Linked DNA regions of Homo sapiens: all the other regions are linked to region 2. The links are contacts of gene promoters, found by promoter capture Hi-C in human tissues and cell types (Jung and others, 2019). All regions are on one chromosome and are shown on one strand. Each heading gives the region's core, a stretch centred on a gene start or on the middle of the fragment in contact. The rest is flanking DNA. Distances are from core to core; before and after follow the strand shown. Region 1 overlaps LOC105375242 (a long non-coding RNA gene). Region 2 holds the start of INHBA (inhibin subunit beta A). Region 3 holds the start of LINC01449 (long intergenic non-protein coding RNA 1449). Region 4 overlaps SUGCT (succinyl-CoA:glutarate-CoA transferase). Region 5 overlaps LINC01449 (long intergenic non-protein coding RNA 1449).

Region 1 (5,385 bases), core at 721-3,220, 830 kb before region 2:
AGGTGAGCGCTTGCTCTGTCATCCAGGCTGGAGTGCAGTGGCACAATAATAGCACATTGCAGTCTCAAACTCCTGGGCTCAAGCGATCTCCCATCTCAGCTTCCTGAGTAGTTGGGACTACAGGCATGCACCACCATGCACAGCTAATTTTTAAATTTTTTATAGAGGTGGGGGTCTCACTATGTTGGCCAGGCCAGTCTCAAAATTCCTGGCCTCAAGTGATTCTCTCACCTCAGCCTCCCAAAGTGCTCGGATTACAGGTGTGAGCCACTGAGCCTGGCTATGGGCTATGACTTGCTTTTTAAAAAATCTTTTTACTTTAAATAATTTTAGATTTACAAAAAATGCCAAAAATAGTACATAGAATTCCCATGTACATTCACCCAGTTTCTACTAATGTTAACATTTTATATAACCAATGTAACATTATGTAAACTGGAAAATTAGCATTGATATAATCCTATTAGCTAATCTATAAACATTATTCAAATTTTACTGATTGTCTCACTTGGGTAGGCAGAATTCTAAGATGGTCCCCAAGATTCCCAGCCACACACACTGTCTCTCAGTTATCCAATCAAACACTAAGTAAGTGCTTCTATGGAAGGAATTTGTAGATGTAATGAAGGTCCAAAATCAGTTGATCTTAGTATAGAGAGACTCTCTAGGTGGGACTGAACTAATCACATGAGTCCTTTAAACCTGGGTCTAGAGGTCAAACTCATTAGGCTTCAGATTTGAAGCACAAAGGGGATTTGACATGTGGAAGTAGTCACATGGCAAGGAATGCAGGTGGCCTCTAGGAGGTGAGAGAAAACCCAAGTGACAGCCAGCAACAAAACAGGGACCTCAGTCCTACAACCACAAGGAGCTGAATTCTGCCAACAACCTGAATCAGTTTGGAAGTGGATCCATTTCCAGAGCTTCAGAAAAGAACTCAGCCAAGCCAGCTTGATTTCAGTCTTGTGATACCCTGAGTAGAGATATACCATGCTTGAATTCTGACTTAAGGAGCTGAAAGCTTATAAATGGCTGTTGTTTTAAGCCTCTAAGCTAGGAGTAATTTGCTATGCAGTGACAGAAAATGAATATACCCACGAATGTCATTTTTTTTTTCTCATCCAGGATCAATTCCAGGATTCCACATCACATTTAGTTGTCATTTTTTCTTAGTCTCCTCCAATCTGGGTCAGTCTCCAATCTTTCTTTGTTTAATTACCTTCAGTGTATTGTGCAGTTATTTTGTAGAATGTCCATTAATTTGGTTTTGTGTGAAATGCTTCATTATTAGATCAGGATTATGCATTTTTGGCAAGAAATTTCAGAGGTGATTTTGGATCTTTGCAGTATATCGTAACAGGATGTACATGATGTTGATATTGTATTACTGGTCATTTTAACTTTGATCCTTTAGTTAAGGCGGCATCTTACAAGTTCCCCTTAAAAGTCCTGGGTTTGCTTTTGTTTGTTTCTGTAATCAGTAAGTATATTTTGGGGAAATATTCTGAGACTGTACTAGTTCACTTCAGCAACTGTAACAAATTACCACACTCATGATCATGTAAAACAATAGAACTTAATTCTCTCAAAATTCTAGAGGCCAGAAGTCTTTGGATTTCATTCTGATCAATGTCATTGAACTGAAAGAAAAGTGTTACATGGCTGTGCTCTCTGTGGGGGCTTTAGAAATGAATTCCCTTCCTCACATAGTCCAGCATCTCAAGCTGCATTCCTTTCATTCCTTGGCCAATGGTCATTTCTTCACCTTCACAGACAGTGGTGTAACATCTTCTCTCTCTCAGTCTGCTTTCTTCCTCCTCCTTTACATGATCTTCTGTGTGCCATCAAATCTCCTTCTGCCTGTCTCTTGTAAGCAAACTTGTGGCTCTATTCAGGGCCCACCCACACAGTCCAAAATAACTCCTCCATCTCAAGATCTTTCATTTAATCACATCCATAAAGTCTTTCCCATGTAAGATAACATTTACAGATTTCAGGGATTAGATAGAATGCATTATCTTTTGAGGAGGCATTTTCTAGGATACCATAGAAAATATGCAAATATTCTGTTTTTCATTATAGTTTTGCCCACGAATTTTAGCATCTGTCTGTGATTCTTGCCTTAAACAATTATTTGGTATTCTACTTCTATTTTTCCTGTTTTTAGATTTATTAACTGTAATTCTATTGTAAGAGTTGCCCGTTCTCCATTTGTTTACTTATTCAATTATTTATTTATATCAATATGGACTAGTTGATATTTGTTTTATTTTGTGGGTTATCATTTATTGTACTCATTGTTTTTTTGCTTAAATTGTCACAGATCTGGCCACTGAGAGCCTCTTCAGCATGAATTGAATGTCCTTTCAACACGCTCCTACCTTTTTAAGAACACTTTCTTACTTTCTGTCAATACAAGATGTTCAGGATCATGTTGTATTTTTCCTACAATAGCCCTGGAATTAATCATTTCTCCAAAAAGCCCTTGTTCCTTTTACTAGAAAATGGTATTTAGAAACCAAGATCTGAATACTAGACGTGCTAATTGTTACTGGAATATCATTATGACTAGGTCCCCTTTGCAGACGAGGGAGGAAATACATGCATACACACACACCCAGCCACACATTTATATTTGTTTCTATATGTATCCTTGCACATATTTTTAAAACCACGTGCCATTTCTAAGCTAAGTCTTTAAGAGGTATGGCATCTTCCTTTTATGCTCTTGGAAATCAACTAGCATGCTACATGTCTGAACATCATCCTCTGAAGAAGCCCAAGCTAGCTATGTGGAGAGAGAGGGGGGCCATTTGGAGGAGCACCAGTATACCAGACATGTGAGTGAAGCTTTCTTGGATATCCAGCTTATCTTAGCAACCAAGGGAATACAACTGAATGAGTGACCCCAGCCAGTGCCACATGGAGCAGAAGAACCTGCCCATCTGAACCTTGACCAAATTTCTGACCCACATACATTGATATTGTTTTAATCCACTAAATTTTAGATAGTTTGTTATACAGTAATACATAATGAATTGTAAACTCAGAGAGGAGTTTAACTACCTGAGTGGTTTCTGCAGTAGGTCACCTTTATAGTCCCCCCGCCCCCACCCCGCCAGTGAGCCTCACCCTCTGGTATTCACGTCTTTCAGTGATCTCCACTCTTTGTCAAACCTTGTCTGGAGGAGGCATTATGAAAGGGCAGTGTTGTTTGCTGTATGTTAACCTCTTCGGGGGAGCTCAGGATATAAATTACAGCAGTAGTGGTAGAGTAGGCGGTAAAGGATATGGAACACAAATATTAATGAGAAACTTTTGCAAGGACCTCCCAGAATAACCTCCACGTTCTAGACCAGTGGTTCTCTGGGAGGAGGGTGGCAATTTTTTCCCTCATGGGAAATTTGGCAATGTCTGGAGACATTTTTGGTTCTCATAACTGGGGACAGCATGGAGGGGAGTGTGGGGGGAGAAGGATTGCTACTGGCATCCAGGGAGTAGAAGCTGGGGATAGTGGGTACTGATAAACATCCAGCAATGCACAGCACAGCCCCACAGCAAAAACTCAGCCTAAAATGTCAGTAACGCTGCTGCAGAGAAACACTAATCTAGAGGAAGCTAATCCTTCAGGTGGGAGAGCGGGTGCCTGACCGTCCCATCTATTCATCTTTTTTTTACATTATTTAAGTTTAAGGCAGGATACAGGTGGGCTCATTGCGGTATAATTGATCCACAGATAAAACTTACCATAGTGGTTTTTTGATGAAAAATTCTTGTTCTGACTTCTTGTGAAATTCTTATTTTGGCTTCTTGCAATGAATATGTTTCTAACGTGGAGGAAGCAAAACATTCTATCTAAAGAAGATTCCTCATTAATTGTTCTTCAAATTTGCAGTTACATTAGGGACACAAGTCAAATTACAGGGAAGATCTTAGTTCTTAATATAATTAGAGAACTATAAGTTGTCCAAGCGACACTGACCAGGCCGCATCCCCCTCTGGGCCACAGTTTACTCTGATGAGTCAGGGGCTCTGAGGACATAATTTCTAAGATCCATATTTTGAGTTCTGCCATTCTTATTTCTTTCATACTGTGGATACACAGAGAATGGAATAAGTGTAGAGAAAATAGATGGACAGTTTTGAACAGTGAAGTTTAAAGGAGAAAGAAACTTTAAATGAGGAATTAACTGTACCCCTTTTGGGTATCTGCTAACCCAGAACTGTAGGGAAGTAGAGTGTTTACAAAGTTAAGAAATATCAAGTGAGAGAATTCATACCTTCCTTGGCACACCTTCCTAACTCTTTGATGTACACACTCTTCAGATGTCTGCTCTGGAGAAGAACTGAGGTGGATTAAGGCTAAAGTGTTGAGCATGAGAGGCGTCTGAGGTCAGGGCTTGCTGACTGGGTCACAGCTGTGCAGCCTCAGCGGAACCCGGCTGATCCCTTGATCAGAACATAACAGTAACGTACCCTACCCCACTGAAAACCTGCGGATCTAGAAGTCATAGGGTCTTCTCTACAATATGGAGCTTTCAAGAGGTACTTAAGGACATGAAAAAGAGGATAAATACATGTGCAAAATATTAATCAACATTTGCAATTCTGTCCAATTGTTCTAACAAGGTTAAAATGAGGACCAAAAAACTTACCAATGAGCTTCCCATTGGAAAAAATTACTTTGCCAAAGGAAATGGTATTTTAAAGAATTGAATGGAAAAAAATATTTAAAGGTCATATGATAGAATTTGAGCCTACAGGATGACTTTTTCTTGGCCCTAATTGTTGACTCTATAGACCTCAGCAAGTTACACCTAGAAGATACGCAATGGGAAGGGCATCTGGCAACCAGACTTCTGCACTGGTTTGTTGATTTTATTGCATTATCAGAATGTGGCCAGGCTCCCGGGCCCACCCATTCCATGTCCACATTCTTTTCCATGTCCACAGCCACCATTTTAACCTACGCCCTTCTTGCTTCCTCCTTCTCACACTTCAGTCATTCCTGCCCTTTCTTCCAAATCCAATTTTAAAAGTCAGTGGTCTAGTAAACCTTTAAAAAATTAATTCCAGTTTATTCTGGTTATAACTGATTACTCCTTTACTCAGCTCAATACTTATGCCTGACTTTATATTGCCATCAAGAGCATTGTTGAAGATTTTGTGTTTGTTAAGCTTTGGATATACAGAGAGGATTAGGACAGGTACTCAACATCAAGGAACTTAAAACCAAGGTTGGGAGGTAAGACACATAAAGTTGATGCATAATAACTCATCCTATTACCTAAGAAATGCCAGTGTTGTTGGAGTTCAGAGATGGGAATGACTCTGTAACCTGCTGTGCTTAGGAAAATAATTTTGTAGGAAATGAGCCTTCATCTT
Region 2 (5,035 bases), core at 7-2,506:
CAGTGCATTCATAGACAGCCTCCTTGACTGCTTCTTTTTCCCTCAAAGGAACAGTGCAGATGAAATCATCATGGATTTTAGTGTGCACAGAAAAAGAAAAATGTGAATTTTTTAACAATGCCTTTCTAAGGCTTAAAAAAAATTCTTCCCCCTCCCCTCTTTTTCATTTTCTGTCTTATTGCTTTTATCTTGCAGAAGAATCTTTAAGGGGTCCATCTGTTAAAGCGTTCCTTCCCTCTCGGTTTCTTTCCCACACATAAGCCCTCTTGGTTTCTGAAGATACACTCAGCTTATATCTGACACCTAGTGTGTTCATAGCATTACAGTCAAGCAATGCAGTTTAGGTGGAAAGAGTTAATAAATATCATTACTACAAGATAAGATCTGAGTGCAAGGGGAAGAGGGCAAGAAAATTGTGACACTAAGTTATAATTACAGTTTGCACAGGTTAACAATGCTTTCTGAATTATATATACTGTCCCCTTTTCCAAAACAACTATTTGTAAGACTTTTTCTGTTACAAGTAACCTAACACCTTTGGGGTTTCAGCTCCAGAAACATCAATTACTCCACCATTATTGTTAAAACTTTGTCAACATTGCCTAAAAAGCCTCATATTTTTTACGGGGATGGTGAAAGAGAATGGGGGAGGCAGGGGACATTTGTGTTACAATGGTTTTATAAAAAATCTTTGTGCTATAATACTTAACATCATCCACCTATTTGGAGTCACATATACAGTACCCAAAATGTTTTGCAGTTCAATTAAGTTTTACAAGAAAGTCTGAAATACAACCAAAAGTTTAATGGCTCTAAACAACTCAGGAGTCCTAATAGCAGCATTTAGATAAGTGCAACTTATCAATATTTGGATTCTCTCTGCATCTGAGTATGTGTGTGTTCCCTGAATTTACTGTTTGCGAATGTAACTCTTAAAAATAGCTTTCTCTTTGGCATATGTACTTGTATATATGTGCTGAGTGGCTTGTATAAACATATAATCTATTTGCATGCTCTAGGACTATTAAAAGCTGTATTAACCTGCCTGAATAATATAAAAAGGTACACATCACAATGCACATTGGAAATGCCAATTAGTTGTAAAATTCCTCCTAGCTTTCCTATCTTTGAATGTGTAAAGAGCTCAGAAGTAAGAGTTAAAAAGCATTACCTTTCTGGTCCCCACTCTTCCACCAGCCGGCTCTTGTATCATGTGGTAAGAGCTGTCTGAGCTCCTCTTCATGGTATTGGCACTGTGAAGTTTTATACTGTACTACTTATTTGTACACCACACATTGGTACCACTGAAACAGAGGAGGGCTGGGGCTTTGTTTGGGATTGGTTGGAATCAGCATGACATCAGCGGATGACTGGTTTTTCCAGTGTGAGACATTTCATAATTCATTATCTAATGGAAAGCCCTTCCTGGCTTCTGAGACACTACTGGGTGATGCACTGAGCCAGTGAAACCTCTGGCTAGGATTACTCTACCTTTTAGAAAAACATTGGAATCAAATAGATATGTCTCAATGAGTGTGTCCAACTTTCAACTTTTACTACTCGCACACACGTCTCGTTATATTCAGGTTCAGTTTTATGTCTTTACATAAAACATCTGTTACTTCATGAAGTTGCTTCTATTTACAAAGTATTTTATTGTTTCTTTCAGGAAAGAAAATTGGTAGTGTTCTTTATAGGGATTCTAATTTTATATTTTTAAAATAAGCTATTTCATTGAGGAAAAAAATTGGGAAAATCTGTATAATCATATGATGATGGTCTCCCCCGACCCCAACCAACTTACACTATTATTTTACATCTTGAAATTGAATGCCTGCTTCATAAATCAAGAACTTTGGAAATAGTAATTCTCTTTAAATGAACTTCATAAGTATCCTTCCCAGGTCTTTAGAATCTCATTCTAACTAACCAAACACACACACACACACACACACACACAACAACAACAACAACAAAAACCCTCATGCATCATTCTTTTTTACCAGAACTTCAACTCCTATAATTTCTAAATTGTTACAAATATAACAGCAGATTAATGAAAAGAAGTGAACACTCCTTGAAATAGGGGTAAAGCTGGTCAGGCTTTTTTTGTGGGGGAGGGGTGTTGGCAAGTCTGGTAAATAACACAGGAGGAAGGGGTCCTCTGACAAGAACGGTGAAGGGTTGTTTGAAGGACTACAGTTGAAGCATAAGCCCAGTTCTCATGACAAGTTGGATAAAATGTGCAAAATTGGGAGCTAATGAGAGCCATATGACCAGATATGTTGTTTTGTATGCAGGATTTAACATGCATAAAATAAACTTTTCACTGTGCCCACAAGCAAAATATAGAGGCTCTGGCCTCCTGATGTGTGGCTTAAGCAGGTTCCATTAGGACACCAGAAGTTTTCTGTGTAAAAGGGTCTCTCTTGGCTAGATACAGAGAAAGTGTGGGTGCTGAGCTGCATGGGGGTGGGGGGAAGGAGTATTCTAAGAACTGCATATGCAGAAATGAAGTAGGAAAAAAATCATTAGGTTGTAGAGGAAGAGAGTGAATCTGAGTGGCGAAGACAGAAATAGGATTAATGATGGTGAACTCCAAACCTGCCCCTCAGCTTAGCACTGGGTGAACTCAAACCCTTTATAAGAAAGAAACTTCTCCACCCTTTTTGCTGAGAATTAGTGGAGTCAATGACCTTCAGGGCATCTAAACTCACCCCTGACCCACACATGAACCCTAGTGTCCTGAAAACATCCCCTCCGCCTCCACACAAAGTAGTGTGTGTGTGTGTGTGTGTGTGTGTGTGTGTGTGTGTGTGTGTGTAGGTGACGTGGGGTGGGGGTGGGGGGCACAAAACAAACCCAGATCAGATCCCAGTTCCTCTGCTCACTCACCGTGTAAACTCAGGCCTCAGTGTTCCCATCTATAAAATGGGATCCATGATATGAACCTGTGGGGGTCAAGTGCAGCTGTCAGATAATAATAAGTGATACTATTTCTGAGAAGCCTGGTGGCTGTTCTTAAACATGGGTGTCACAGGAATCTGCAGCTCTCTGACCAGAGGAGCCACAACACAAGTGTGACTCTGAAACTCCGCTGGCCATCTGATGCCACCGAGTGCCCACCTGCCAGGCCAGCCTACCAGCCGTGCTGCAACCCCTCTGCAACCACCTGCACCACAGTGGCAATGCCTCCTCCCTCGGTGCAAATCAAGGTGGGGGTGGTGGAGGAAGCAGGCAGGTTAAAATAGCTTCTGTGGAATATTCTAGACTGGGAATCAGCTTTTCCCTGCGGAACTCAAGGGCCCGGGGCACAAGCTGGTCAGCCCAGTCCTGACCAGAATCTCCTTCTCCTTCCTTGGTTTGGTTTCTCTTTCACTTCCCCCTCCCCCGGAGCTTCCCCGCACCCCAGGCCCTTCGGGTCCCGGCTTCTCGGCCCTGCTACTGTACCTTGAGCAGCACCTGCTGGCAGCTTCCAGGGATCACGCCGGAACGCGGCCGCTGCTCGAGCCCAGCTCGCAGGATGCCTGGAGCCAGGGCCAAGCCGGTCTAAGCGGCAGCCTCTATTTTTACCCTGAGCACCAGCAAGGGCAACTTCTTTTAAGAGCAGCTCTTGATTTTTTCCCCCCTTTTGGCAGCTAAAGAATTCAGGGAGGGGAAAAAAATCACTGTTCAGTGAGTGCAGCTGGGAATCTCTGAACCCAGCCCTCAGTGCCAGGGAGTGAAACCACAGCAAATGTCAGGGAGCGGGACCTGCGGAGGGGCCGGCTGGCTCCCCGCGGACAGAGGCGAGCCGGGAGCGCTCGCGCACCAGCCAACTGCCCCCTTCTGAGTGCGGAGCGCGGTCCTCCAGCGACTGCACTAGCAAAGTGGCCCGCTGCCACCGCGTTATTCACCTAGTGGAGGCGGCCTGATTTACTGGCGACTTCACAAACCCAACTCCACGCTGGAGCATTTGCATGGCTCTGTTCTCGCCTCGAGGAGCAGCCACTAGCGAACCCGGTGGAGCAGCTTGCTGCGAGAAGGAGCCGGGAGGGAAACTGTGGTACCTTATTTTACTGTAATTGCAAAAGGAACGATGTGCCAGAGATTTATATTTAGAAGTTGTATGTTTCTACTTTTATGTAAATGGAGCAATTAGGGCCTGTCTTGCTGCTGCTAACTCCAATGCGTGTGCATTGCTGGGGAGCTGGTGTTTTCAATCACAATTAGTGAGCTGGTCAAAAAACAAAGTTCGTTTAAGGATAAGAGCTCAATTGTGCGAATGGGGGAGAGGCCAGCGTTCGTGTGCTGGCCCGTGGCTTACGGTGACACCTAGCTTAGGGCCACGGCCAACCCTATAGTGGTGTTTACCTGTGGCAGCAGCTGTCCCTGTTCAAAGTTGGCATAGATGAGGAAGCAAGAATGTTCACTTTTCTTCTCAAACCGTCTGTCCTTCAGCTTTCATCCACGCTATTAACTGGTCTCTTTCCTCACTACTCCTGGAGCAAGGAGACAGGACCAGAAAAGGGAGTGGGGGTTGGGGCATTTTTCAGGGCTCTATTATTTTAGCTGCTGCTCACGGATTGCTGTTATTCAGTCAAAAATACAAGCCAGGAGACGCGAACGCCCCAAGCAGGTGACTGGGATGTTGTTCTCTGATTCAGCTGAAATGACACAAGGCTGGGGGTTCAGAGGCACGGACAAGAGTGCTGACGAGTCACGGTGTTTTCTTTCCTTCCTATGAAAAAATCTGTTTCCAAAAAAGCATGATTTCTGGTTCATCCCGTCTGGGAAACCGAACATAAAACGTGACTATGGAGAGAAATCAAAAGGACTCGAGGTGTTCCCAGCAGCTGATGTGTTATTCTGGGGCTCAGGCCGGAAAACCTGGCCTTGTTGGTGAGGGGTGACTCCCTCCAGAGGCAGCTCAGAATCCAGAGAACGTGGGCAGGATCCAGAGTACTATTTGCTGCAGGGAGACTGCGAGAGTCTGTGATGAAGGGTCTCATCAAATGGTTTAAATCGAACATGGGATTGGCAAACCCTGCCTGTT
Region 3 (5,412 bases), core at 700-3,199, 600 kb before region 2:
ACACTATGATAAAAAGTGTGTGGGGAAAGCGAGGGATGATGAAGGGGATCTGTGAAGTATTTGGTCAGGTCATGGAAAGTACAGCATCCTCCTGATGGGGTTGGATCAGGGTGGCCTGTAAGTGGAGTGAGCAAGACAGATGACATCATCCACAGTGGATCATTCCTGTGGTCTTCTGGAAATTTCTAGGCAAGGAGGGGGGCAAAGGACCATATAATTATAAAGCCTGAGTGGAGGGCAGGGGTGGTTGGTTTGGATAATGATGGCCTGATCCTTTTAGAACTTCTGTGGCACTTTTTACCTTCCTCCCCATCACCCCACCCCTCTGGGAGTTAGGCAGGTAAAACGTTTTCTTTGTTCCTGTGTTCATCCATGCTATTGTTGCTCAATTCCGTGGCTAAGTTCCTTCAAGACTGGAGAGTCTGCCTTAGTCGTGTTAATGTCCACGCGGTAACAGTTTAGAATCTTACGTGTCGGAAAAAATCAGCAGAGTTTGTAGGTTCATCCTCCGCCAAAATATGAGTGGCTTTTCACCGGCGAAGTTTTTCAACCGCCTGGAAGAAGCCATTTGAGGTTTTTGCTGGGCTGAATGTACATTTTTTGGACACTAAAAAAGCACAAGGTCAGTCTATTTTAGTCGCTACTCAAGATGTAGTCATTATTATGAGACATGTGTTTAAAAACATATTTTCTAACGTTCCTTTTTGAATATGCACTTCAGAGGTGTGTGTCATTGTGGCTAACCAGCATTAGCATGACTGATGATTACTGTTATTGTGTGTATGGATGTCCTTATATGACTGTGGAAAGGAGTCCACAGGCTGCCTGATTAATGCATTTTAAAAGTGATTCCTCCAAAGACAAGAGAGAACTTGTTCATAATTATAAAGAAATTATCTTCTAATACACACACCAGCATTCCTTTTTTTAAGCTCACTTAAAAAAATGCATCTATATGACTGTGTCCTACAGAGTAACCATTTATTATACTTTCCAAGTGCCAGTTACCAGAATTGCTGTTCTGTTCATTATCTCATTTAATACTCAAAAGAATCTCAAGTTGTGTTTCTCAATCAATAGACGAAGATACCAGGGCTCAGAGAGGTTAAGTTCCTCAGGGTCATATTATGAGTTAAGCAAAGACATGGCATACAAATCCAGGTTTTCTGATCCCAAACCACACACTCTTTTTATTTAATTGTACTAATTGTCCTCGTAGCAAGGATTGTGTACTCACTGAATTCAATTCAACAATCTAAATATAATTCAGAATGTGAAAAGCCACGACTAAAACGCAGCCAAAATGTAACGAAAATGCAAGCTTGCTTTGTCTCTCCTTATTCCTTTAAAGTATGTGCAGGGGTAAGGGATTGTTTTCCCACCACCAGGACTTTTTCAATCAAACTTAGGCCACAAACAGCCCTAAAATCACTTGAAATTACAAACCAGTCCATTGTGAAACCAGCACATTCAGATTAAGATAACATCACTTCAATCTTTATTCTAGGGTTACACTCCCTCAGCCCTTCCTCATGTTAGGGCCTATATTGAGCAGCCACTCACCATCTGTGAAGGGGTGTGTTTAGCTCTTTCTCTCTGCTCCTCACGTTTTTATTTGGCCAGTGACTGGTACTGCAGCACACTGGCTCCTACACACCCCGATGCTGGCTCTCAGATGATCCTTGCCGTGCCCATTTGCTTCTGAGAATCCCCTTCCTTGCAAGCATCCTCTCGAGTTAGACCTAAATAGCTCTAGACCTTCTTTTTTTGTGTGATCCATGGGAAAAACTCATATACTCCTTGCCCTGCCATCAATTAGAGATTAATTCCTTCCCAAATGCAATCATCTATTCTCTGTGCCCTGCCAGAGACCACTTTAAATCTTCTCGGGCAAGAATAAGCCTCCAATTCAAGATGGGCCCACATTTCCAGGAACATGCTTCAAGCTCTCCATCTGCTCTATGCTTGAGACAGAGTAGCTAGCAACAGCCCACTCCCACTCCCAGACGCACCCCCCAACAGATCCCCTTAAGTTGAAAGTGACTCACCCACATAGCAGAGAATAGAAATTCTCTTGAAACCTCACAACTCCTTCCCTGCATACTCTGATCTTCCATTTATGGCCTTGATTTGAAGAAGGCTTTGTGGGGTTGGTTCTTCACCATTTTCTCTGTGAATTCTGCGTTTCGATGCAGCCCTTCATTTTGAAATTTAAAATCGTGTTTTGGCACTTAAGTCGAAGTTTTAGTTTTAGCGTATTTTTCTACAAAGGATGTTTATATTTTATTCTAGAATGAGCTACATTAGTAAGAAAAGGCTGCTGACCTGTTAACATTAAAGTAGAATTTAATTTAAAGAAACTACTAATTGTCTTCATGGGATTATTGGCTTTAAGATTTGAAAGATAAATCTTTGTGGCAACTGGATTAAAAAGGGCTTTGAAATTACATTTCATTTAGTCAGTTATTCAAGTCTATAGAATAACTTGTTGAGTCATGTCCAGAATTCACAGATACAACAGGGGTAATTTAATTGAATTGATAAGCTACACTACTGTGCTTTTAGAAGCTGTAGGCAACTTTCTAAAGATAAAACTCCTATGCTTCTATAGTTTTCAAAGAGATTTCATATATAGGCATGGCATGGTAGGATTGCAGAAGGGGACAAAACACAACTTCTGGAATAAGATGCAGAATATTCTTCCTTACTTAAAAAGCAAGTTACAAGTACATTTCTATGAGTCTAAAACTGGAAAACAAGTACACTAGTGTCTTATTGCCTTACATAAATTATAAGTGCATTGAAAGCCTGAACACTTCTTTGGTAAAAAAGTATTCTGTGATGAAACAAGGTGTTTTCTATTTTATCATTGGGGAATGTAGCAAACCTCAATCTCCACAAACAATGAGATGATCTGTTCTTAGGTTTTTGAATAACCGTAGAAATGGGCCTTCCTTGTCTTAAAACTTGAAACTTACATTTGTCCCATCTGAGTTCCTTGTTTAGAACTGAAACCCACTAGATCCCCACATCCAGAGGATGAGATGTCAAACCTTCATTCATCTTGATTGCTTTCTTGCCCCTCCCTAATTCCTGTTTTCCCCACTTTCCACGTTACATAAACCCCTAATGTTAGTTTGCTGGAGAGACGGATTTGAGACTTATCTCCTGTTCTCCCAATTGACGTTACCCAAATATAAAGTCTTCTGCCCTGGTAATACTCTTTGTCCCAGTGATTAGCTTTCTGCTTGGTGAGCAAGAAGACCTGGACCCAATCTCTGGCATTTTGGTAACATTCTTATTTTAAAAATAATTCATTCAATTGTAAGCACATGGGACTAATTTGAAAGAAAACTGGAATCAAGATTTTCTTGCTCATCGCACAGACCCTGAGATTTGATATTTGTGTTGATGTCAATGGAGCCCCATCAGCTTAGACTTGGGAGGTTTGAATGATGCCATCCATCACCAATCCAACCAGCTTAAGGACATTAAGCCCAAATCATCGTAAGTTTGTCGCTAATATATCTGGAGAAAGGGGACAAAGTTAATTTTAGAGAACAGTAGCATTTGTAACATACTCTCTGAAATGTGGACATACATGATATTTATTATGATTTATTTCAAACTATATTTCCCAGAGCACTAGTGTTCTCCATAGGTTACATGGAACTTTCATAGAGGCCCCTAGCCAGCTCCAAGCAAAATATTTCTAATCTTATCCATTTTCTATATTTAGATTTCAAATAAGATTTTTTTGAAAAGGTTATATCAAAAGCCACTTCTCTATTTGCTATGCATGCAGGATTTTGCTGTATGTATACTAGGAAATGAAACTCATAGTCTAATGGGGATAATCTCTGTACGAGTGTTATACAGTTTCTCAATCTGGGGAGGATGAGTGGAGCTCATCATGGGTACCAAGTTTGTAGGTAATAAATCTTAGGAAGTTCTGTGACTCCCTTCCCACCTGATGTGCTGTAGAGTTTCATAGTTGAGGTTATTTCACTGGGGGAGAGACCCATCTGACCCTACTGAGAGGCCATTTTCTGCTTCGGGTACTGGAAAAAGAGGCTAAACATAACAACACCCTTTTGGCTTGAGGATTATTATTTGACTTGTGGAGCTCCCTTTGTTGGCAATTTCTTACTGAGAAGGATCTCCACATACCTCTGGAACTCTTTTAAGATAGGACTATATTTCTCTGTTAGGCTTTTTATGTCATCAATATTTCTCCTGCTCTATGATTCAATGGAGAGATGATAAGAAAGGAATCTCCTGGATTTCCATATATGGGTAAGCTGCATGGAAATTCTGGAAGTCTCTTGATGCCGCTTTCAAGCTCCTGACATATTCAGGAGAGCGAGATCTGGCATGCATCAAGGCAGCAAGGAGGGCACAGACTGCATTTACAGAACTACATTTTGCTTGGCAATACATTACAGGAGACATCGGCAAAACACAAAGACAAAACAAAGGTCACTTATAGAGTATTAGGATGAATGATGCCCAGCACTGCCTAGTGTGATGTCAGAATTAGAACTGAGTATAGAAGCCAACTTCAGAAACTGTGAAAGGATAGGGGAGCAGGATGACCTAGCTTAATTTGAAGAGACAGTAACTTGCTGGCATCTGGCTACTGAAAAGAACAAAATGGTTGACCTCCTAGTAGTGCCAGGGACTATCTTAAAAGCAACAATGATCAATGGGTCAGAAGTTATTAAAATAAAGAGACAAAGAAGAGGGACATTATGAAGTTAAAATGGCAAGATGTCATGATTGGTTGCTTTAGAAATGGGGCAGAATGAATGAAAATGGATGCGAATATTTCTCACCCAGGTAACGTAAGTGTCGGTAGAGTGATTAATATGAGTGGGCAATTACAGAATCTTGGCTACTTGAGGGAAAGAAATGTAGTTTTGGATATGATAAATGAAAGGAAGTAAAGAGATGAAAATTAAATCCCAGAAATCAAAAGAAAAGGTAAATCTGAGAGTCCAGGTATAAAGGTGAGACCTGAAGCCATTGCTTTGGGTCACCAATAGAGTACACATTAAGAAACCAGAGGAAAGGGCCTGGAATTGGGTAGATGAAGGAAAGCAAGAGAAGTACAGTACAGTAACTGCATAAAACAGTAATGCAGTCATTTGTTATCATTATCAAGTATTATGTACTGCACATTTTTATAAATGCTATACTTTTTATGACTAGCAGTGTAGTAGGTTTGTGTGCACCAGCACCACCCCAAACACGAGTGATGCATTGTGTTATGACTTTATGATAGCTACAACATCACAAGGAGATAGCAATTTTTCAGCTCCATTATAATCTTATGGACCCCTGTTGACTGAAATGTTGTTATGCAGCACATGGCTATGTATATGAATATACAGAAAACACATAAGCCCTTAG
Region 4 (5,150 bases), core at 848-3,347, 930 kb before region 2:
GTCCTCTACCTCAAGAATTGTTAGAGGATAGTTAATTAGCATAGTATTTTTCATCTTGCTCCTTAAAACTAGGGTGACCATATGTTCCATTTGCCTAGAACTGTCTTGGTGTATGCCTGTTGTCCAAGCATAATTATTAATAGTGCCCCCTCAAGCTCCCTGAAGGAGTAAGCCAGCTTGCAGCCTGCTCCTCCATCCTCAGCAGGATGAACTTTCCCTTCCTCCTCCCTTCTTCTTCACTTTCCACACCAAAAGTCTGTAGGAGTAGGGGAGAGAGTAACATTCTCATTGAAAGCTCAGTTTCTGGCTTTGGTTCCCATATTCCTGTTACCACCTGCTGAATATCAGCCCATACGTAAGTCTTGCAGATTGTTTCAAGTTCCTGTGGTTACAGATAAAAGCCTTTATTCTTTGGAGGAGAACATGCTTCTGGTTAAAAAAAAATAAAAAGACAGAGTTCCATGTTTGAGCTCACAAGCAATTCTTTAAATAACTATGAGATTTTCCAGCATTCATCGTGATAGACGCTAGATCTCCAGAGCATATCCTTATGTGTCAATTCTTTTGAAATATCTATCTATCTATCTATCTATCTATCTATCTATCTATCTATCTATCTATCTATCTATCTATCTATCTGGTGTTATCTATCTGCTATCTATCTATCTATCTATCTATCTATCTATCTATCTATCTATCTATCTATCTCTATCATTTACTTTTGAGACAGGGTCTCACTCTGTTGCCCAGGCTGGAGTGCAGCAGTGCAATCATGGCTCACTGCAGCCGCAACCTCCCTGGGCTCAAGGGATCCTCCCACCTCAGCCCCCTTAGTATCTGGGACTACAGGTGTACACCACCACAACCAGCTGATTTTTTCAGTAGAGGCAGAGTTTCACCATGTAGCCCAGGCTGGTCTCGAACTCCTGGGCTCAAGCAATCTGCCCGCCACGGCCTCCCACAGTGCTGAGATTACAGGTGTAAGCCACTGCACCAGCTTGAAATATTTTGTATTCCATGAAATTCTTTATAAAATTACTTTATAAAACAACTTCCTCACTTTCTTAACTAATGTAGATTGAATAAAATGAAAACTTTTGTTTTTATAATCATTATGAATATTAATTTTTTATAGTAAGTGATTCCTTATGGACTACAGGGGCACATGGAATCATTTGACCTTTTTATTAATAATTTTTGAATTAGTATCTTTCTTTTTTTGAGATGGAGTTTTGCTCTTGTCACCCAGGCTGGAGTGCAATGGTGTGATCTCGGCTCACTGCAACTTCCACCTCCTGGGTTCAAGCGATTCTCCTGCCTCAGCCTCCCAAGTAGCTGGGATTACAGGCACCTGCCACCACGCCCACGTAATTTTTGTATGTTTAGTAGAGAAGGGGTTTCACCATGTTGGCCAGGCTGGTCTCAAACTCCTTACCTTAGGTGACCAGCCCACCTTGGCCTCCCAAAATGCTGTGATTACAGGCGTGAGCCACTGTGCCCGGCCGTATCTTTTTATATCATATTATTTTGAGTGTATTGCCTCTATTAGTCTGTCTTTCTCACATACGATTTGTTTCCTCTAATCTGCTCTAGGCTCAAAAACAACATCAGCATAGTGATGGGAATTGTGAATAAAATCAATGTACATTTGCTTCAAATGATGAGCAGCTCTCCGATGGGAAAATCTATGTGATTTGATGACATCACTTTGCCTGCAGAGATACTTTTTTTGCTTGCTTTTTGTCTGAGTTCCAAGTAGTTGAGTTTGTAGAATAGTTGACCTCTAGATAAGTAAAGTGTTTTTGTCATTCCGTTTGAAAATTAGTGTGGAAAATTAAGGTGTGCACCCCCATGGAGAAAGTTGAGGTCAAGCAATTCATTCCCGAAGCTGTGCAGTCATAAAGATTCACATGCCGAGCTCAGAACTAGTATTAACCAATCAAATTGCTCCCAGAGGGGTGCTCACTTCCTAGGTTAACTCTTAAAACACTCCACATAGCCATTTTAGGCTTCTAAATACTTGTTGAATGGACAGAGAAACAGGAAATCAGAGTGGAAATGGATGCTATAAATCTATTTTCTACAGAAATGTGTTATGAGGGCAAATACACTACATCAAATTTTAGAATCTCACAATACTTCCGAATTCAACCCAAAGCTTTCCTTTGTTACATTTTTTTCTTTCCCTAATTTAAGATTCACCAAGATTGTGTAAAGCTTATGATTATTTCCAAGTTTTGGAAATCAGCCTTCTTTCCCTTTTAGAAGAGATTGAATAGCCATCCCTCTGAAAGTCACAGGGAAGATAGGAAATTCTATTAAATAGATTTAATGTATCTCATGAAAGCCCAGAAGTTATTCTTGCCAAAAGAATGCCTTCAGAAGCAGCAGGCAAAATGAAAACTGAAATATTTGCTGTAATTTACATAAATGCTCTCTTTTATGTAATTACTGCAAATAAGTATAATGAGATAAATGTGTCTGTTGCTTTCTCTTTAGAATAGATGTTATTAATTAATCTTGAAAAGTTCCCAGTGTCCCATGAAATTGATCTATAATGTTCTCATTACTCATTGTGGAGATGGGAGATTGCTGATTGTGTTAATTTTTGCTACATTTTGATTTTTAGATGCTCAAGTAGAATCTGTAGGCCAAAAACACTGTCTTGCCGAAATGCAGTTATAATTTCCTAACAGAGTTATTTCTGTTGTTGATACTTGTCTACAGATTATAAAGCCTTGCAAAGACTTACAGATTTTGATTATATGTTGGCTTTTTCCATAAGTTTCATATTTTCAATTTACCCCAAATACTGTAACTGTGAAATATAACGACTAAGGCATTTTGGCAAATAAAAAAAAAAAAAAACCCACAAATTTGGTGTGAACATCAAGAAATAATGGGTCTTGAGTTTTCATGGCCATGTGTACTGTCCCATTAGTAACATTTAGTTGGTAATAAAAAGATAAAAAAGTTAAATAAAATTATTCACATCTTTTTAATTGTGAAACAACAGTGACCAAAAAAACCTCTAAATGAGACTGCAATTCTTGTTATTGGAAAATATATGTATTTCACAGTAGCAATCTATACTTATTTTTGGAACTGCTTACCATGCTATGGAATTTCAACTGTGGTGTTATTGGGGTTTCTACACAGAAGAGATGCCACATAACAAATGCAAAAGCTTTTATTTGAGAGTCATTCAGAGTTGCTTGAACATCTCTGAAGGTTTTGAAAGATAAATGTGCTTTACCATCTGTAAACACTAATGTGGCTTACATCAGAAGGAGGTGGCCTGAAGGGCCCATGCACACTAATGAGCTGTGCCCAAAATGAGTGTGATATCCTTTTTCCAATTACGTACCCTGACTTACAAGTAAATATATTTTCCTTCTGCTCTCAACCACTAGCTTATACATACACAAGGTCTTTGGCAGGACATAGAGTCCCAGTTTCTCTACTGGAAAGGCAAATACCTACAAGCATTCTCAGTTAACAATGCTAAGAGGTATATCTGCAAACTAATAATTAATATGCATTGAGTGCTAACTCTGTCAGATAAGATGCCTAACATACACTGTTTTAGAAACATTATTTCATCTTGGCAGGTTGATACTATTTTCTGTGTTTTACAGATTAGAAAATTAAGGTTCAGGTCAATTAAAGATGTGGAGCTTTGCTTCTCCATGGGAGAAAATTTGGCCTAGTTTTAGATGGACATACCTTATGCCTTTTAGAGCACAAACCCAAGATACTAAACTGTCTCTGGATTTAAGTGTAAGGTGAGTGGATTATTTCTGCATCTTATCTCCTTCCGTGGAAGTATATGTAAGTCAATATAGGTGCAATCTTTGAAATTCCTATTAAGCAGCAGCAACATAAAATCACGTCAGCCTAGGGTGTGAGAAGGAGGAGCTCCATATAGGTTTTGAACACAGATAAGGCTTTCAGAATGGTTCTGCCTCTGGAATTGTTACTTTAGTTCTTTTCCTTTTTCCAAAGTTTGTGTTCTAAAGAATCTATTCTGTTAAGACATATTATCTTTCAATGTCAGATGACCTCCTGGCCACTCACCTGAGCCCTTCCCCATTGTGCCTGCCACTTTTATACACCTTGGCCAAGTTCCTGCTGAGCCATATTGCAGTTTGCAGTGAGGTGCCCAGCGGTTGTCCCCATCCTGCCGCTGTGAAAGTCAGCCAGGGAATCCACGTGTCTGAGAACTAAAACAAGTCAACTCCAAATCAGCTCTTCTATTTCTAAACCCAGAATCTGCTGTTGATTCACACTGGGGCCTTTGAATTAGTTTTCTCTTTCCCACGCTGCCTCAGTTTCTCAACTATCAAAATAGGAAAAAGAACACAAAAGCACGTGTGTTCAGAAGGGAGACTCCAGCCTTATTTAGACTGAAAGACTTTTTGAGTTTTGTGGGGTTTTGTTGGTGTCTTTTTTTGTTTGTATTTTAGGACATAAACCCAAACTGATTACATCACTATTTGTATTCATTTTAATGGTTGTTTCTCTTTGATTGACATCAAATGGTCCTTTTGCATCATGAGAAAAACTCTACTTCTTGGATTTGAGTTTTCATATTCTTCTGGAAGTTCCATAGTTATTAATTAGTTGCTCTTACTTTTTCTGAACCTAGAGGCTATAAGTTTCATCAATGTTACTTTCTACGTATTATTTCAGTTTTAAATGTCAACACCTCTATCTCAAAGAGATATTTGAAGCTGAATCTCTTTGTGCTCTAGGCTCACAAATGCAGTCCTCTAAATCACTCTCTTGCACATTAAAGGTGTGAGCTAAAGCTGGCTGGTACCTAGCATTCTGGCTCTTTTCCCTCCCATGCCAGTGACAGACATTGCTCATCAATCCCAGGCTCTTTCCTACCAAGCTTAGAGTGCACTTGGCTTTGGAGAACCCTTCCTGGGACAGGGCCCTACCAGTCATTTGGAGTCAGCAAGTAGGATGAAATCCATTTGCCATCTATAGAACAATGCCCCATGTAGTAAATATCAAGCCAAAGGTTGGTTTTTCTCCTCAGGAAGCTGTTTGAAACATTAATGCAGTAGAGCGGTGAAGCATGAGAAGATGCTGACAATCTTAGAAGCTCTATTATGGTGTAACGGGGATCTCCTCTATGAAGT
Region 5 (5,351 bases), core at 1,728-4,227, 580 kb before region 2:
TGCAGAGACACAGCATTTTTTTCCAACTATTGCAACCCACTTGAATTAGTCAAGACTTTTATGGTTTTAGGTGGTAGAAATCCAAACAGAGCTAGGTTAGCACAAAGGAAGAATTTCTTGACTCACATAACTATATGTTGGGAAACGAAAGGGTAGGAGGGGGATTCTGCTGAATGTATGGCCAGGCCTTAGCCCTGTACCTGGGACAGAGGAGTCTCTCTTCCCTACCCTCAGCCTCCACTACAATATACACACATGCCCACATCTCTCCTTCCTGTTTCATTTTTTCAGATTGCAGGAAACCCACCTGCTGGGTTATATGTTCCAATTTCACCACCAGAGAGACCAAAGACTTGTTTTTTCTCCCTCTGATCCCAAGCTCAAAAATCCCAGGAAAGGGATCTGCTGGTACATTTTGGATCAGGAGTTCATACCTGTTCCAATCACTGATGAATGGTTGTAGGGAAAGGCTAGAGGGTGACACCAATGCCTTTCCAGTTTGGAATAGGTATCTTTTCCCAGTGACCATAAATAGTAGTCAAGGGGAAGGATTTATAAACCAAGAGAAGCTCCCACGTAAACCCCAAAGTTAAAATAGAGGAAGGATTTCCCAGCAGAAGCTTGTATGCTAGTCTAGGCAAGCAAAACAATAGATGTCTAATATCTTACTCTTGCTATAAACTTTGCATTCTTACTCTGCATGCCTACGGTACAATAATAAATCACATCTATGTTTTGTAGAAACAAGCTATAGATCATTGCTAATTAAATGCATGGGTTGTTTTGGTAAGTGACTAGTCCTGCAAATACTGGATTTTGAAATGTCTTCCTTTTCTTTTTATAATGTTGCTATGAAGTCTTTCATAATAGTTTAAATGTGTTAATGAATCAATATATAGTCATAAGCCTCAAACACTAAAGATCTTTCAGTCAGTATTACTGGGGCCAACTCTGACATTCATAGGATGACAAGAATTTATTTTAAAATAAATTAACACCCTTTGGGAGGCCGAGGCTGGTGGATCACGAGGTCAGGAGTTCGAGACCAGTCTGGCCAACATAGTGAAACCCTGTCTTTACTAAAAATACAAAAAATTAGCTGGGTGTGGTGGTGTGGGCCTGTAATCCCAGCTACTTAGGAGGCTGAGGCAGGAGAATCACTTGAACCCCGGAGACGGAGGTTGCAGTGAGCCGAGATCGTGCCGTTGCACTCCAGCCCAGGCGACAATGTGAGACTCATCTCAAAAAAATAAACAAATGATAAATAAATTAATTAACAAATACTAAGCACCGTGTCTTAGGTGCTGGTTTTGGAGTTTTACATTTTATTAGCACCACAATGACCCTGTGAAGTGAGCATGATTGTTCCCTCTTTTCAGAGGAGGAAATTAAGGCTTGGTGAGAGTAAATCACTTACCCAAATTGATGAAATTAGTAGGCAGTCAATGCAGGGGATTATAATGTAGATCTAAAGGATTTAAAGCCACATTTTATGTGCACTACATCAGGTTTTCCTCACTGAGCTCTGTGGAGTGCAGTTTTTGGCAGAGACACCTCAGGGGCCACTACGAGCTCCAGTCAGCTGGACTTGGGCATCTGACTTCACCTTGCCCCCATCTCTGCATCAGAGAGCAGCTCTGCCTTCATACTGTGTTAGTTCAGGGCTTCTTTTGAGGCTGTCTTTAAAATAAACTAAACCATGGTAACTTTATACTAGCAGCATCTCTGCCCTCCACTCACTAGATGCCAGCAGCACTCCCTTCTCTAGTGGCAGCAATAAAAAATGTCGCTTTGGCTGAGTGCAGTAGCTCATGCCTGTAATCCCAGCGATTTGGGAGGCTGGGGCCAGGAGTTTAAGACCACCCTGTGTAACGTGGCCAAGACCCCTATCTCTACAAAAAAAAAGTTTCCAGATGTGGGATTGGTAAATGTCCCCTGGATGGTAAAGTAAAATCGTGCCCCAGTTGAGAACTATTGTTTTTAAAAAATCCATCTCTTTTTTGTCTGTTTTTGTTTTTGTTTTTGTTTATAGAGGAAAAAGGTTTAATCGACTCACAGTTCAGCCTGGCTGGGGAGGCCCCAGGAAACTTACAATTATGGCAAAAGGTGAAGGAGGCCCGAGGAAACTTACAGTTGTGGCAAAAGGTGAAGCAAACATCCTTCTTCACATGGTGGCAGAAAGGAGAAGAATGAGCAAAATGGGGAAGAGCCCCTTATAAAATCATCAGATCTCGTGAGAACTCACTCACTATCATGAGAACAACATGGAGGTAACTGCCCCTGTGATTCAATGACCTCCCACCGGGTCCCTTCCACAACATGTAGGAATTACGGGAACTACAATTCAAGGTGAGATTTGGGTGGGGACACAGCCAAACCATATCACTATCTTTTATGATATTTTATATGCAACTTAGTGTATTGCCTACTTTCATAATTATTTATTTATTTTTAATTTTTAAATTTTTTAAAATTTGTCCATAAGTTATTGGAGTACAGGTGGTATTTGGTTACATGAGTAAGTTCTTTAGTGGTGATTTGTGAGATTTTGATGCACCCATTCCCTGAGCAGTATAAACTGCACCATATTTGTAGTCTTTTATCCCTCGCCCCCTCCCACTCTTCCCCCAAAGTCCCAAAAGTCCATTGTGTCATTCTTATGCCTTTGTGTCCTCATAGTGCACCTCCCACATATCAGTGAGGACATACGATGTTTGGTTTTCCATTCCTGAGTTACTTCACTTAGAATATTAGTCTCTAATCTCATCCAGGTCACTGAAAATGCTGTTAATTTATTCCTTTTTATGGCTGTGTAGTATTCCATTGTATATGTGTACTAAAGTTTCTTTATTCACTTGTTGATTGATGGGCATTTTGGTTGGTTCCACGATTTTGCAATTGTGAATTGTGGTAAATATGCGTGTGCAAGTATCTTTTTTGAAGAATGACTTCTTTTCCTCTGGGTAGATACCCAGTAGTGGGATTGTTGGATCAAATAGTAGTTCTACTTTTAGTTCTTTAAGGAATCTCCACACTGTTTTCCATAGTGGCTGTACTAGTTTACATTCCCACCAGCACTGTAAAAGTGTTCCCTGTTCACCACGTCCACACAAACATCTACTTTTTTTTGATATTTTGATTATGGTCAATCTTGCAGGAGTAAGGTGGCATTGTATTGTGGTTTTGATTTACATTTCCCTGATCATTAGTGATGTTGAGTATTTTTTCATATATTTGTTGGCCATTTGTATATCTTCTTTTGAGAATTGTCTATTCATGTCCTTAGCCCACTTTTGGTTGGGATTGTTTGTTCTTTTCTTACTGATTTCTTTGAGTTCATTGTAGATTCTGGATATTAGTATTTTGTCAGATGTATAGATTGTGAAGATTTTCTCCCACTCTGTGTGTTGTCTGTTTACCCTGCTGACTGTTCCCTTTGCCATGCAAAAGTTCTTTAGTTTAATTAGGTCCCAGCTATTTATCCTTGTTTTTATTGCATTTGCTTTTTGGTTCTTGGTCATGAAATCCTTGCCTAAGCCAATGTCTAGAAGGGTTTTTCCAATGTTAACTTCTAGAATTTTTATAGTTTCACATCTTAGGTTTAAGTCTTTAATCTGCCTTGAGTTCAAGTTTGTATAAGGAGAGAGCTGAGGATCCAGTTTCATTCTCCTACATGTGGCCAGCCAGTTATGTTTTTTTTTTTTTTTTCTTTTGAGATGGAGTCTGGCTCTGTCACCCAGGCTGGAGTGTAGTGGTGCGATCTCGGCCCACTGCAACCTCCGCATCCCGGGTTCAAGTGATTCTCCCACCTCAGCCTCCAGAGTAGCCAGGATTACAGCCACACGTCACCACGCCCAGCTAATTTTTTGTATTTTTTTGTAGAGATGGGGTTTCACCATGTTGGCCAGGCTGGTCTCGAACTCCTGATCTCAAGTGATCCACCTGCCTCAGCCTCCCAAAGTGCTGGGATTACGGGCGTGAGCCACTGTGCCCAGTTCTCTTCTAATACAAAGATACTCTTAATGGATTTTAATGATTTTTTTAAAAAATGGGTTTTAAAAAAATGGAACCAGGGCATCATAATGTGTTATATTTATAAACACCTGAGTTCAAAATGATATTGAACTGTTGTTTTTATTGAAATCTTTACCCAGGTCATCACATTTTGAAAGCTTTAAAATGCTACAGCCAAACGCTGAACGATTATCTTAAGTATTAAGAAATTTGCTTCTAATTTGTGGCTTTTGATGTTGTTCTTCATTAATACTCAGGCTTGTTGAGAGAAGCAGAGCATCTTAGCACCAGAAGGAATGTCAAGAGGTTATTGGCTGCACCACTATGCCTACCTGCAAATCAACATCTGGACCATTCCTAGATCAGTGTTTAAGAGCAGGGAATCATGGGCACTGGCTGTATCTAATTATTGCCAGATAATATCACCTAAAATGAAAGTTCCTTAATGTTTGCCTGACACATCATTGGCAATCTCATTCAGCAAGCTACTTCATTTATTTAGCTTGGCATAATTCTCAAGCACACACAAGAATTATCTCCTGATCAAAGCTAGGCATCATATGGGCTTTATTGAGGCTGTTTTATGGTTAAGCTGGGAAACCCTTTCACTCACCTGTAAAATTTGTAAGACAAATTATTTTGATCATACAAATTGAAGAAAATTGGACCTCAATGGCTCATTTTTATGTTTTAGAGAGCTTTCAAAAATTATTTTATAAGGGTAATTTTTATTCTGCCTATAAGTTCTCTTTGTCTGACTTCCCAGTTAGGGTATGATGATCTTTTATTTAGTTATGTGTCATTGATAGGTGACTCAGTTTTTCTTTGGGAGATGCCATTCTCACCCATCTCCTCCGTAACTAGCAACAGGATGGCATATTAAGGGATTTGCTTCTGATTCCACTGGAAACACAAATTATCTGTGTATTAGCAAAGCAACACGTATAAAGGATTTCCTAAGGATAGTTAGTCTATTTCCCTAGAGATCCTTAAATTGTGAGGCCCAAGGGTTTTAAAAGGGTTATGAACACCAAAAATAAAAAATGTATGCAAAAATGTGTGTTAAATTTAGGGAGGTAAGGAAGCTGGAGAGATTTTCAGATATCTTAGTCCAAAAATATTGCCCTTTTAAACAAAGTCAGGGGAACTGAGAATTATATAATCTGTAGCAGTCTCCTCTGTAGAATTGGTTTGACTGATTGTGCTTTGTTGATATGTCATAAATCCTGAAGGCATGCCTTAGGATACTAACAGCTGTTTCTCCCATAGAGATGTTTGTGGAGAGTGTTTTCTGTTGCATTATGCAGTTTATTCTTCATGAGTAAACCTTGGGGAAA

Evidence for each region. The method cuts DNA at HindIII sites, captures the fragments that hold promoters and counts their contacts. A contact is called where the count stands out against the background at its distance.
Region 1: a contact is called between a fragment that was not itself captured here and the fragment with the promoter of INHBA in region 2, in 2 of the 25 tissues and cell types used here (lymphoblastoid cells and mesenchymal stem cells).
Region 3: a fragment that was not itself captured here is called in contact with the fragment with the promoter of INHBA in region 2 in 1 of the 25 tissues and cell types used here (lymphoblastoid cells).
Region 4: a contact is called between a fragment that was not itself captured here and the fragment with the promoter of INHBA in region 2, in 2 of the 25 tissues and cell types used here (aorta and mesenchymal stem cells).
Region 5: a fragment that was not itself captured here is called in contact with the fragment with the promoter of INHBA in region 2 in 3 of the 25 tissues and cell types used here (H1 embryonic stem cells, dorsolateral prefrontal cortex and hippocampus).

The regions. Positions count from the first base shown.
Region 1 is chr7:40,868,566-40,873,950 of GRCh38, forward strand. The region is part of intron 1 of LOC105375242 (a long non-coding RNA gene); the gene reads right to left. It also overlaps a transcript of SUGCT not described here. Among named protein-coding and RNA genes, the nearest start is that of LINC01450, 110 kb to the right of the region's middle. The HindIII fragment of the contact is 4,088 bases long and covers 1-4,014 here.
Region 2 is chr7:41,701,834-41,706,868 of GRCh38, forward strand. It overlaps INHBA (inhibin subunit beta A), which reads right to left and starts at 1,257. Exons shown (of 3, transcript NM_002192.4): 1 at 1,172-1,257. All of the region lies in intron 1 of INHBA-AS1 (INHBA antisense RNA 1), which reads left to right. RefSeq lists an enhancer at 3,298-3,387. The HindIII fragment of the contact is 9,174 bases long and covers 1-5,035 here.
Region 3 is chr7:41,097,016-41,102,427 of GRCh38, forward strand. It overlaps LINC01449 (long intergenic non-protein coding RNA 1449), which reads left to right and starts at 4,589. Exons shown (of 6, transcript NR_110832.1): 1 at 4,589-4,844. The HindIII fragment of the contact is 4,261 bases long and covers 1-4,080 here.
Region 4 is chr7:40,771,925-40,777,074 of GRCh38, forward strand. The region is part of intron 13 of SUGCT (succinyl-CoA:glutarate-CoA transferase); the gene reads left to right. Among named protein-coding and RNA genes, the nearest start is that of LINC01450, 210 kb to the right of the region's middle. The HindIII fragment of the contact is 3,890 bases long and covers 153-4,042 here.
Region 5 is chr7:41,116,935-41,122,285 of GRCh38, forward strand. LINC01449 (long intergenic non-protein coding RNA 1449) reads left to right here. Exons shown (of 6, transcript NR_110832.1): 4 at 2,033-2,349. The region is part of intron 2 of LOC105375241 (a long non-coding RNA gene); the gene reads right to left. Among named protein-coding and RNA genes, the nearest start is that of LINC01449, 18 kb to the left of the region's middle. The HindIII fragment of the contact is 5,711 bases long and covers 123-5,351 here.